Linked DNA regions of Homo sapiens: regions 1 and 2 are each linked to region 3. Evidence: promoter capture Hi-C in human tissues and cell types (Jung and others, 2019). All regions are on one chromosome and are shown on one strand. The core of a region is centred on a gene start or on the middle of the fragment in contact, and the rest is flanking DNA. Distances in the headings are between cores, read along the strand shown.

Region 1 (4,430 bases), core at 688-3,187, 1.2 Mb after region 3:
CCCACTCACATCCGAGCAGAGCTGCAATAACAGCAAATGGTCCTTGGAAATCACAATCACATTAGGCTGCTGTTCAAATAGCTTTTAGGGTTGTGATAATAGGAGGCATTCCTAATAACTGGTGACTCTGTGAGACCCTGCCCAGAAGGCCTCCAAATGGCAGCACACAATTTAAATTTTAATCTGGAAGCGGTGGAAATGATGAGATTCCAGCTGGGGACCTTCTGGTCTGAGGGCCGGTGTTCAGCCTCCCGATTAGATGCCCCAAAGCTTCATTGAGTTGACGAGTGAGTGCCCCTTATCTCTCTACTCTTTTCTGCTGCATACCATCGCCCACCTGATTGCTTGGAACCTCAGAAGGTCATCTTTCTTTGCTTCCGTAGAGGCTGTCTTGGAGCTGATGGAACATTCCCAGTTTGCTGTGATCCAACTAAACACATTTGTGCTTGTGGTAGTGGAATGATACTTTTATCATTCTGACAAGTGGTAACTTTCTGAACTTTTTTCCTTCCATGCGCTGAGTGGGCTTTGGGACGTACTTACTCACTTAAAGCTTCAAATGAAAGCTGGCAGATGCATGCCATGGGCAGGAAGAAAACACTTTATTTTTTCCTACAATAAGCAATAACCCTTAGGATAATAACTCAACACAAGTTAAATAGCTAAAGGGAACATTAGTGGGACCCTGTCAGCATGGAAAGGAACAGCTGGCCATGTTAGTAATCATTGCATACCATTACTTGGGAAGTCCACTCCCAATTCTACCACCAACTTGTATTTCCTGAGTGTTTAGGCAGTAACACATGACAGATGAGGAAGTATCGAAACAGGACATCAGACACAGAACTCTAGATTTGAATGTTTGGCATTTCCAGATTCAGTTTCCAGTGAGCAGGGAGGAAAAAAAAATCTTATTAACTGGAACAAAGTTGGGAAGAATATCAAATATCTCTCTCATGTCTCTGACTCAATCATTTTTAATAGGAAACTTTTTTATTCCCAATGCATATCAGTGACTCCCAAGAATGGCGATTTGTCTCTCAAACTAGGAGTGTGAATCTAATGAAGGGATGCACATTAATACCTGGATGTTTGCAATACTCAGAGTGCAAACTCAGCTGCTTCCACTGGGCTCCATTAGGAAGCCTATTTCAGTACCCCAATACCCTCAGCAGCAGAATTAGAAAGTTGTTTTGATTTTTTTAAACCACACACAGGAGCAAATTTCTGCAAGGTGGAAATGGGAATAAAAACTAGTGTTTTGGAATTTTTTTCTTTGCAGATAGTCATCAAATGAGGTACAATATTTGCTAACAGAGGGTAATTTGAATTATCCACGGATAGTTCAAAAACACAAAGAGTTCATTACCCAGATATCTCTATTTAAAATAGATTTGCTTTTGTTCATCAGTGCAGTGCACATGGCTGGGAAATGGCAAAGTGCCAGAATGAAACTGCTCCTAATTTTCAGAGGAGGCCACCAGCTAATTACACAGACTGCAGGTGTGAAGAGAGAAGCTCAAAGTAATCAATAGCAGTAATTAATCTGCTAGACTGGAGCTAAAGAGCTAACAGCTGGACATCAGAAATGGACACATGCAACAAGATCAGCAATAATTACCTCTTTAAATATTGAATTTCCATAGCAACAATTAAGCATATAAATAAAGGCTGGAAACCAAGGCTTTGAGGCATGACATTGCATGGCAAACACAACATTCCCCAAATCAACCCTTTTAATAAAACACCAACAATATGCTTGGGCTGGGTTGACCGATTTCCAGGGTTGGAAAAAGCTGAATGTAGCTCCTCCTGCCTCTGCTTTCTTGGCTTCCAGTCATTGGCTATCCCATCCCCAAGGTACAAAGATGGCCCTAGAAGTTTGCTTTGGGCAAGATAACAATACCTTCCCTAGTACAGCTGAGCTACCAGCTGTAAGACACATTTCCTCTCAACTGGAAAACATGTTCCTTTTCTAAGAATCATGAAATCTATAAGCAAAATTCCTAATTAAGGTGCTGGAACCACTAATATTGAAAAAAGCAATTGGGCAGTATATTGAGAGTCTCTTCAAGACCAATATGACAAGCAAGAGACTCAGACATTGAGGCTTCTATAACATTTTTTGCTTTGTGAAAAGAATAAAGAAAACTTTTTATTGTATTTATTTTTTTTTTATTTTAAGTTCCAGGATCCATGTGCAGAACGTGCAGATTTGTTACATAGGTATACGTGTGCCGTGGTGGTTTGCTGCACCTATTGACTCATCCTCTAAGTTCCCTCCCCACTGCCCCCACCCCACAACACCCTCAGGCCCTGGTGTGTGATGTTCCCCTCCCTGTGTCCATGTGTTCTCATTGCTCAACTCCCACTTATGAGCGAGAACATGCAGTGTTTGGTTTTCTGTTCCTCTGTTAGTTTGCTGAGGATGATGGCTTCCAACTTCACCCATGTCCCTGCAAAGGACATGATCTCATTCCTTTTTATGTCTGTGTAGTATTCTATAGTGAATATGTACCACATTTTCTTTATCCAGTCTATCATTGATGGGCATTTGGGCATCCATGACTTTGCTATTATAAACAGTGCTGCAATAAACATACATGTGCATGTGTCTTTATAGTAGGATGATTTATATTCCTCTGAGTATATACCCAGTAATGGGATTGCTGGGTCAAATGGTATTTCTGATTCGAGATCCTTGAGGAATCCCCATACCGTCTTCCACAATGGTTGAACTAATTTACATTCCCACCAAAGTGTAAAAGCATTCCTATTTCTCCACAGCCTCACCAGCATCTATTGTTTCTTGACTTCTTAATAATCACCATGCTGACTGGCATGAGATGGTATCTCATTGTGGTTTTGATTTGAATTTCTCTAATGATCAATGATGTTGGGGATTTTTTAATGTTTGTTGTCTGCATAAATATCTTCTTTTGAGAAGTGTCTGTTCATATCCTTTGCCCACTTTTTGATGGAGTTGTTTTCTTCTTGTAAATTTAAGTTCCTTGCAAATTCTGGATATAAGACATTTGTCAAATGAGTACATTGCAAAAATGTTCTCCTGTTCTGTAGGTTGCCTGTTCACGCTGATGATAGTTTCTTTTGCTGTGAAGAAGCTCTTTATTTTAATTAGATTCCATTTGTCCATTTTGGCTTTTGTTGCAATTCCTTTTGGCATTTTCATCATGAAGTCTTTGCCCATGCCTATGTCCTGGTGGTATTGCCTAGGTTTTCTTCTAGGGTTTTTATGGTTTGGGGTTTTACATTTAAGTCTTTAATCCATCCTCAGTTAATTTTTGTATAAGGTGTAAGGAAGGGGTCTAGTTTCAGCTTTCTGCATATGGCTAGCCAGTTTTCCCAGAACCATTTATTGAATAGAAGATCCTTTCCTCATTGCTTGTTTTTGTAGGTTTGTTGAAGATCAGATGGTTGTAGATGTGTGGTGTTATTTCTGAGGTCTATGTTCTGTTCCATTCGTCTATATGTCTGTTTTGGTACCAGTATCATGCTGTTTTGGTTACTGTAGCCTTGTAGTATCGTTCGAGGTCAGATGCCTCCAGTTTTGTTATTTTTGCCTAGGATTGTCTAGGCTATACAAGGTCTTCTTTGATTCCATATGAAATTTAAAGTAGTTTTTTTCTAATTCTGTGAAAAATGTCAATGATAGTTTGATGGGAATAGCATTTAATCTATAAATTACTTAGGGCACTATGGCCATTTTCATGATATTGATTCTTCCTATCTGTGAGGATGAAATGTTTTTCCATTTGCTTGTGTCCTCTCTTATTTCCTTCAGCAGTGGTTTGTAGTTCTTTCACATCTCTTATTAGCTGTATTCTTAGACATTTTATTCTCTTTGTAGCGATTGTGAATGGGAGTTCATTCATGATTTGGCTCTCTGTTTGTCTATTGCTGGTGTAAAGGAATGCTTGTGATTTTTGCACATCGATTTTGTATCCTGAGACTTTGCTGAAGTTGCTTATCAGCTTAAGGAGTTTTGGGGCTGAGAAGATGGGGTTTTCTAAATATAAAATCATGTCACCTGCAAACAGAGACAATTTGACTTTCTCTCTTCCTATCTGAATACCCTTTATTTCTTTCTCTTGCCTGATAGACCTGGCCCAGAACTTCCAATACTATGTTGAATAGGAGTGGTAAGACAGAGCATTCTTGTCTTGTACCATTTTTCAAAGGGAATGCTTCCAGCTTTTGCCCATTCAATATGATATTGGCTGTGGGTTTGTCATAAATAGCTCTTATTATTTTGAGATATGTTCCATCAATACCTAGTTTATTGAGAGTTTTTAGCATGAAGGGATATTGAATTTTATCAAAGGCCTTTTCTGCATCTATTGAGATAGTCATGTGGCTTTTGTCTTTGGTTCTGTTTATGTGATGGATTACGTTTGTTGATTTGCATATGT
Region 2 (4,414 bases), core at 1,262-3,761, 1.1 Mb after region 3:
TCCTCTCTACCCATACCCACTGCCTTCTGTCTCACTATACTGGGTGAACTACCCCTGGCAAGTCCCCACAGAGGCCATCCCCTCCACCTGTTTATGAGCTCCTATCCTTTCTAACCTGTTCCAGGTCACTGCTCAATCCCCTCCTCTTCCTCTTGCAACATTACTTTTTCCCATTCTACCACTTCTTTCCCATTCACACTCCACCTTGATATTATTTCTCTCACCTAAAAATATCCCTCATAATTTTACTTCCCTTTTTTACTATTTTTAAATTAAGCCAGCCGGGCACAGTGGCTCACGCCTGTAATCCCAGCACACTGGGAGGTGGAGGCGGGTGGATCACGAGGTCAGGAGATCAAGACCATCCTGGCTAACACGGTGAAACCCCATCTCTACTAAAAATACAAAAAATTAGCCAGGCGTGGTGGCGGGCACCTGTAGTCCCAGCTACTTGGGAGGCTGAGGCAGGAGAATGGCATGAACCTGGGAGGCAGAGCTTCCAGTGAGCTGAGATCGAGCCACTGCACTCCAGCCTGGGCTACAGAGTGAGACTCCATCTCAAAAAAAAAAAAAAAAATTAAGCCATAATTTATGTACTATATAAGTTGCCCTTTTTGTTGTATACATCTGCAAGTTTTGACAGGTGCATACAGACTTGTAACCATCACCACAATCAAGCTATAGAATGCTTCCATCCCCCTTAAAATATTCCCCTTCACCCCTTTATAGTCAAATTTCCCCCTCTCACCACCATCTCTGGCAATTACTGGTTCGTGTTCTACCTCTATGGTCTTGCCTTTTTCAGAATATCATATAAATGGAATTATACGGCATAAAGCCTTCTTGAATCAGGCTTCTTTCACTGACCATCCATGTTTTTATGCTAATCAGTAATTTGCTCCTTTTTATTGCTTAACAGTATTTCAATGTGTTGATGTAATACAGTTTGTTAATTCATCCCTGGGGAGAGGGACTTTTGGGGTGTTTCCACGTTTTTGTGATTAAATATAATACGGCTGTAAATGTTAACATGCAGGTTTTTGTGTGAACATAAGTTTTCATTTCACTTTGGTAAATATTTAGGCATGAAATGATTGGTCATATAGTAAACATATGTTTTAAATGTAGAAGAAATTACCAAAGTGGTTTTCATAGTGGTTGTGCCATTTTACATTCCCACGAGAAGCGTGTGAGTTCCAGTTCCTCCACATCCTCGCCAGCACTTTGTATGACCAGTAAATGGTAAAATCCATCCTCCCACTAAGTTGGGTGAAAGTATCTGGCATCATCATCATCAGTTCCTCTACTTTGTTCATACCCTATATCCAGCCAGTCAAAAAAGCCAATCAGATCTACCATTAAGTCATACCCAGAACCTAAACCGCTGATTACATTTGCCATTAGATCTTCGTAACTTTTTTATTGCAAAAACTTCCAAACTGATTTTCAAGTTTAATATTCTGAACTCAGATGCTTAAAGTGTAGGTTAATCATCTCATTTTCATGCTCAAAATCCTGTAATCTTCCCATTTCACTCAGTAAAAGCCAAAAGTCCTGGTAATCCCCTAAAACACTGCACAATCAGGCCCCACAAGTCTGACTTCCCCTTTGCCTACCTGCCCTTTTTTTCCCTTTCTTTCTTTTCTTTTCTTTTTTTTCTTTTTTTTTTTTTTTTTTTTGAGATGGAGTCTTGCTGTGTCGCCCAGGTAGGAGTGCAGTGGCATGATCTCGGCTCACTGCAACCTTCTCCTCCCCGATTCAAGCAATTCTCCTGCCTCCGCCTCCCAAGTAGCTGGGTCCACAGGCACACGCTGCCATGCCTGGCTAATTTTTTTGTATTTTAGTAGAGACAGGGTTTCACCGTGTTGCTCAGTCTGGTCGCAAACTCCTGAGCTCAGGCAATCCACCCGCCCAGGCCTCCCAAAGTGCTGAGATTACAGGCGTGAGCCACTGTGCCCAGCCTTTTTTTCTTTCTTTCTTTCTTCTTTCTTTCTTTTTTCTCTCTCTCTTTCCTTCCTTCCTTCTCTCTTTCTCTCTCTCTTTCTTTTCCTTCCTTCTTTCCTTCCTTCTTTCCTTCCTTCCTTCCTTTCCTTTTTTTTTTTTTGACAGGGCCTTGCTCCATTGCCCAGGCTAGAGTGAGGTGGTGCAACCTCAGCTCAATGCAACCTACACCTCCTGGGCTCAAGTGATCCTCCCACCTCAGCCTCCCCAGTAGCTGAGACTGCAAGTGCATACTATCACACCTGGCTAATTTTTGTATTTTTTTAATAGAGACGGGGATTTCACCAGGTTGCCCAGGCTGATGTTGAGCTCCTGAGCTAAGGTGATCCACCCACCTCAGCCTCCCAAAGTGCTGGGGATTACTGGCGTGAGCCACTGCACCCAACTTTTCCTTAAGTCTCAGTGATTTTTTGTTGTTCTTCAAACATGCCAGGCAAGCTCCTACTTCAAGGCTCTACAATTGCTGTTTCCTTTCTTGAAATGTTTTTCTATCAAAAATCTACATGTTTTATTTCCTCACCTCCTTCAAGTTTTCTTCACTCAAATATTGAGCCACCCACTCTAAAATTGCAGCTTACTCTTCCACAACTGTCCTGTACCCTCATTCTCTGCTTTATTTTTTCCTTAGTATTTATAGTCATCTTACATGCTATATATTAAATTACACATTTGTTTATTGACTTGATTTATCCCTCAAGAACATAAATAAAGGGAAGGCATGGAATTTTGCAAGCATTGCTTACTGCTGTATCTAGCCTTGAAAACCATACCTAGAACACAAATAGGGTGTCAATAAATCTCTGTTGAATCAATTAAATTTGTCACAGTCTAGAATTTGTTAAATGGTCAGGACTTTCGCTCTGCCTTGGTGTAAGAGCTAGTTTGCTTTTCTAGGCAAAGAAAGTTTTTGTCTTGTTTTGTTTGTCTAGGCACCCTGATATGGTGTTTCCATCTGCTTTAGTGCATCGGGATGTTAGAAGGAGGTTTTATCTGCTTCTCACACTGGCAGCTTACATGTGCTCAGATTTACTGATCTCTGAGGGCACTTAGGCACCCACTGTTTGTTTATTTTGGAATTATTTTGTTATCAGCTTTACATGGGTATGAACCGTTGCCAAGATGGAAAGCCCTTCGAGGACTGTTATTCCTCATCCTCAGGATGCTCTCTGACCTGACCTTGAGAAACAACTGCAGCTCCTTGCAGAAGATGAAGAATATAAAATCTTCATTGCTTGCTCTGGGCCAAAGAGATTTCTGCCCAGCACCAACAGCAGGCTGCTGTTAGCCATGGTGTGCTACAACACTCAAGAATCACCCCTCCAGGCCCTATATAAGGTATGTCCTCCCCCACATTAGAGAGACCACTGGAATCAGCCACAGCCAGGAGTCTTTGAAGATGATTCATATGTGTATCCTTCCATCCCCACAACAAACAAATAAACAAGCGAACAAAAAACCCTCACAAGTCCTGGTTTCATTAAAAAAAAAAAAAATCCTTTACATTATGAGAAGAAAATTATTCCACAGAAAGTTTGAAAAATAATAAAGTGACCCATAATCTCACCATCCTAAGACAACCAACACCTTCAATTTTGTAGATCACCTTCTGTCTTTTATAATATGAATATTTTACATAGGTGTAAGCTTACTGCACATGTAATTGCATACATTTTAAAATCAATGTTATAATCATTCATTCATCAGGTGGTTAACAGAACAATTGATGAGAACAAACTGGGAGCCATGGACCAAGAGTTAACCCTGTCTTCAAAGGGCTCATAGTCTAGACAAGCACTTTTCAATAGAAATATAGTGCAAGCCAAATATGCAAGTTCAAATTTTTAAAGAAATGATTGAAATTAATTTTGCTACTATATTTTATTTAACCCAATATATCTAAAATATTATCATTTCAACATGTAATCAATAAAAAATTGTTAATGAAATATTTAACATTTTTTGTATCAAGTCTTTGAAATCCAGTGTCCAATGTCTTTTGCTTTCACAGCATACCTCGATTTGGACAAGACCTGTTTCCAGTGCTCAAAGCCACATGGTACCGGTAGCCATCGTCCTGGACAATGCAGTCTGCGAGGGTACCTTTCTATGTTTCTAAGAGTTTTCAACTTTGCAATTATTATCTTTCATACTTTCATAATATGCTATTGGGTTTATTTAGTTATTCACTTTTTACTGAACATCCAAGTTAACTCCATTTTTTTCACAATTATAAATTATACAGCAATGGATGTATTTTACCATATTTTGAATTAGTATTTAATTAGATTACTCTCACAGATGTGGAATGCTTGAGGTAAAAGGTTCAAACACAGTAATGAGTTTTGGTACACATTTTCAAGTTGCTTTCCAAAACCGTTGAATGATTTTACCCTGCCTCTAGCAATGTGTGTGA
Region 3 (4,842 bases), core at 13-2,512:
GGCTCAGCGGCACAGAATGCTGTCGCCCTGCTTGTTCACCGCGCCGGCCTGGAACAGCAACCGAACACCAAGGGAAAGGTTAGCAGGCGCAAACAACGCGCTCGACACGGTCCTGGATTGTCCTCGGAAATCAGGCTGGCGCGCCGACGCCCCCACCCCAGCCTGTAGCCGGGGGGGCCCCTCCGGGCTCAGGCGGGACTTGACAGCCCAGGGCGCCCACAGCCCCGAGTCCCGCCCTGCGCGTTCTCCCGGACCCGCGCTCGCCGAGCCCGGCCGGCTGCTGGCGGCCCGGGGGAGCCCGGAGGAGCAGGGGGAGGGGGCTGTCATTCCTGGCCCGCCCCTGCCCGGAGGACGGTGAGCGCCCGCGTCCCGCCACCACGCCACCAACCTCCCATCCCCCGCGGCGTCCGCCCACGGCCGGCGCCCGGCCTCTCACCGGGTCGGTGTTGAGCGCAGTGAGCGGGGTCCGCGGCGGCGCGGCTGGACAGGTCCCGGCCGGGTGGTGTGGCGGCGCGGGCGGTGGTGGCTGCCTCAGCAGGGCCGGGTGCGTCTCCAGCGCCAGCTGCAGGTCCAGGATGTAGTCGATAACGTGCTGCAGGATCTCCACTTTGCTGACTTTCTTGTTGGGCGGGATGGTGGGCACCAGCCTCCGCAGGCGGCTATAGCAGTCGTTCATATCGCACTGCAGGCACAGCGCCGGCTCGTCGGCCGCCGCCTCGGCCGCCTTACAGCGCGCTGCCGCCGCCGCCGCCGCCGCGGCTGCGGAGCCACCCAGGCTGTGGCCGTGCTCGGCCAGGCAGCGCAGCGCCAGCTCCCCGCCGCCGCAGCCCGACGGCGCCTTGCGGCCCGAGGGGCGCACCGGGCTCACCGCCTTCATCGCGCGCGCCCTGCGCTCTACGCGAGCGAACCCGCTGGGGCGAGCGAGGGAGGCAGGCAAGCTCCGGGCCCCGTCCGCGGCCGGCTCCGCTCCCTTTGCCTCCGCGCCCGGCGCGCTCGGGGCACCGCGACACTCCCGAGCCCAACAATTGACGGGAGGGTCGCTCTGGGTTTTACGAGGGAATCTTTGCTCAGTGGGCGACACTCAGCCCGAGCCCAAAGGAAAAAAAAAGCAAAAGCACCGGAAGAAAAGTAGCCCACCCGGGTGTCCTAGTCACTCCCTTCGGAGCTCCGACTAAGCCCGATCGCGGCCGCCGCGCTCCCCTAGCCCGGGATCACCCCACTCCCGGTACTACTCACAACCGCGCCTCCTCCACTACGCTCTCGCCCGGCCCGCCGCGCAGCTGTATTTATAGAGCCGTGCGCCCCGGGGGCGGGACCAGCGCGCGGGCCGGGTCGCAGCGCGAGCCGAGCGGAGCCCGCTGGGCGCGCGGGCGGGGGCGCGGAGGGAGAGGCGAGGGCGGGGGCTCCGGGCGGTGCTGGGGGGCGGGGAGTCCGGCTACCCGAGTGGAGGAGTGGGCGGGGGGTCTGGAGTGGCCAGCCAATCAGGCGGGCAGTGCCACCTCGGGGAATGACGCTCGGGCCAATGGGAAGGGCACTCCATTCCGTCAACGCTGTGGGTCGGGGTTCTGAGAAAAGAGAGCTGAGTGGGAGTCGGGCCAGGCTGATGTGTGCCCAAGGGAGGGGAAAAGAGAGAGCGAAGTTCCTGCGAAGAACTGCGGGAATGTGCGGCCGGAATTCACTCTCCACCGCCCCCCTTATCCCGACTAGGCTGCTGAGGGAGCGCCTGGGCCCTGCTCGCGGATACCCTGCCACTCCTAATAGCACGGCGCCCAGGGACCCTCCGCCACCCATCACTCCATCCGTGGGATTCCAGTGCCTTAAGAAAGACGCGCTGTTCAAGAAGGCACGTTCATTCTGTTCTATATTTCCCTCCTCCGTTTCATTATTCGCCTTTTCACATTTGCCGAAACCATAATGATGGAATGGAATGTGTAGCCTTTCCGTTTTCTTTTTAAAAAATGCTAAAGCTTAGCAAAAGTAGAAAAAAAAAGAAGGAAAAGAATGCCGAATCGAATGCAGGTTTTTGGTGAAGGGAATATAAATAAAACAAAAACGTGGGGGGGGTTCTTTTACCCCATCTAAATGCAAAAGTGGGCTCAAGAAATGCAGTTGCCTTGCGCATTCAATTAGAGCACGTAAAGATTAAAAATGCATGGACACGGAATATTTAAAATTCCATTATGACATATAATATTAATCTGTTTTATGTAAAATTCATACCTGTAACTTAATTTAGGCCATTAATGCACAGCTTCACGTATTAGTCAGCGTACCCCGCTTTAAATAAGGTGATGAGAATGTCCAGAGTCGCCTCCTTTGACAGCAAAGCATTAAAATTCACACTTCCAGTCTCTGGGATCCCGCTTGGGCCCCACCCTGCAAAAAAAAGCCTGTTAATTAAGGGCGTTTTTGTGTTAGATTTCTTAGAGAAAAGCTGTCCTTCAAGGGTTCAAAATAAAATTGCACAATGAGCTTTGGTGGAGCATTGTGTGTACCCTTCAAGAAAAAATTGAGCCCTTCAGATGAGAAAGGTGCATAAAAATTCTCAGACAATGGGGAAATGAATTTTGAGTGCCTTCACTCTACAAACCCTCCCACCTTTAGACACGCTTGGAGATGAATTAACCCAAGAATTTTCTTCATTCGTGTACATGACATGGATTGGTGTCTTCATTTTCATAGATAATTGAAAGAAAGAGACATGGACCTCATTTCTTCCTGTCTACCCCTATATGGACTTTTTCTACATCCATTCCCAGAACTGAAATACCTGCACCAGGCAGATATTTTGTTTAGCTATGTCAGTGCTTTATGACTATCGCACTATTCCCCAGAGCACATTCCTTTCTCCTGATGAAATGAGGAGCAACTATTTAATTCTGGTTTCACAGGTAGATGCAATAACCCTCCTCTCCCCTAATCCTTGTATGTTACTGCTTCTAATAATTGTTTGGAAACAAGTGCCATTCTCATTTATTTATGTGCATACGTAGATGGTCTACATACACATTAATCGAGAAAATCAGAATTATGAAACTCAGAAGGGCTTTCTTCTAAAGACAGGCATAGTCATATACATCATTAAATTAATGCAAATACAGAGAAAATGTTGTAATTTTAAATGGGAAGTCGGTGAAGCCAGCACTACTGGTTGTAAGCTATTATCTTGGAGCCAGTCATATGAGCACAGACGATAATAATAAATGGATATATGTACAGATGTTTTGTTCCATTGATCTTTCTCTTTCCTAGAGTTTAAAATTTGCTTCCAAATTCAAAACCCAAGACTTTCCTCTGTTTGGCAAAATAAAACTATGCTAATATGCCCAGGACACACTTACATTTAAACATTTTACATATCCTAACGATTAAAATTAAAATTTAAGTTTTGAATACGTAACACAAAGGAAGAATCATATCGACCTTTTTGGAATTTGCTAAATCTCAGAAAGCCATGCCTTGGGTGTGACAAGCGCCAAATGCCTAAGTTTCAGGTTTTGTTGGAGATGCTCTGTGTGACTGGCTTAAAGTTAGAAAGACTGAGTTACTCTGTGTGGGGTGGGGTGGAAGAGGTGGTTTCAAAGGAATGTACCTCAGCCACAAGATCAAGAATACCCAGGAAAGATGTGATCCGTAAATCCTGCTAGCAGAGTAGGCAGAGGCAGTTACTGTGCTCCTTGTTTTGAAGGTTGGAAGGCATGAAGACATTAAAAAATTAAAGTGCTACCATATACTATGGGAATAAGGAATACAATCCTGCACGTTTTGGTCCATGAAACCAGAGAGTACTAGGGGCTATGCAATGTATGTTTTTGTATTCTTAGACATAGACACTTACATGACATCAAAGCTGCAATCATGGAAGATTCCTGGCACTGATAATTCAAAACAGTTTACCCAATTATCACTCAGATTTTGGATAAACCTTACAAGCTATGTTATTTCTACTGTGCAGAGAAGGTAACTTAGTCTGTTGGTGACTCTTTTACATCAAAGTGTTTCACTTGCACTTGTAAAAGTAAAATGGGCTAACCCAAATCCTTTTGTCATGGAAATGCTCGAGACTCCCAAAATATACCTCAGTAGGAACCTAGAATGAAACATTCATAGGAGAATTGCTAGAAAGCCGTGATGACCAGAGTCATGGATACACCCTTCCTCCAGACAAAGAGGTCTGCTGTCCTCCCTGAGATGTATTCTAGCTACTAAATCAGGCCCTCACTGAACTGCAACACCCAGGCCTTTAGAAGTCATAGTCACCCTGTGTTTACATGAAGCAAGGGTATGGAAGCATATTGTGCTCTTCATTCCCAGTGCCTTTTTAGGACTTGATACTTGTTTCTCCATAGCCTCCAGGGAAACAGTGAGTGTACTCATACACAGATAAACGTGAATGTTCCAATGCCTTGGTCACTCTGTAGATTTGTCGTCACAGAAAGAGGCACATGCATTCTTTGAGGGCATAAGAAACCACTATGTACTCTGCAGCAGGACTGTCCCTTGCTCCCAAAGAGTAAGTTGGGCAATGTGGCAATTCAAGCTCAAGGCTGCTTTATCAGGCACTAAGTGTTACAAAATTACTTGTGCTACCCTTGGATTGCTGATACTAGTCCCGGAAATGCTGATAACCCCTTAGTTTGCTAGGTCCTGGAAAAGGCTTGTAGGAAGAGGACGTTGTACGTTGAACATGGCTGGGCAGATGTGGCTGTCAAAAATGCCTTGTTTGGGGAGTTTTAAAGGTAGTTGGTTTAAATAAGAAGTGACTTTTTGAAAGCCCCCCTTAGATTAAAAGACAGAAAAATGGGGAGAAATAAGTGGAATTTGTTTTTACCTTAGGAGATA

Evidence for each region. Contacts are between HindIII fragments. The study calls those that stand out against the background at their distance.
Region 1: a contact is called between a fragment that was not itself captured here and the fragment with the promoter of ID4 in region 3, in 1 of the 25 tissues and cell types used here (lymphoblastoid cells).
Region 2: a contact is called between a fragment that was not itself captured here and the fragment with the promoter of ID4 in region 3, in 1 of the 25 tissues and cell types used here (dorsolateral prefrontal cortex).

Annotation. Positions count from the first base shown.
Region 1 is chr6:18,660,239-18,664,668 of GRCh38, reverse strand. The region is part of intron 4 of MIR548A1HG (MIR548A1 host gene); the gene reads right to left. Among named protein-coding and RNA genes, the nearest start is that of MIR548A1, 91 kb to the right of the region's middle. The HindIII fragment of the contact is 3,049 bases long and covers 413-3,461 here.
Region 2 is chr6:18,766,315-18,770,728 of GRCh38, reverse strand. No RefSeq gene overlaps it. Among named protein-coding and RNA genes, the nearest start is that of TRQ-CTG1-1, 68 kb to the left of the region's middle. The HindIII fragment of the contact is 7,845 bases long and covers 1-4,414 here.
Region 3 is chr6:19,833,790-19,838,631 of GRCh38, reverse strand. It overlaps ID4 (inhibitor of DNA binding 4), which reads right to left and starts at 1,262. Exons shown (of 3, transcript NM_001546.4): 1 at 437-1,262; 2 at 1-48. The coding sequence starts at 877. The coding sequence ends at 4. The HindIII fragment of the contact is 7,095 bases long and covers 1-4,842 here.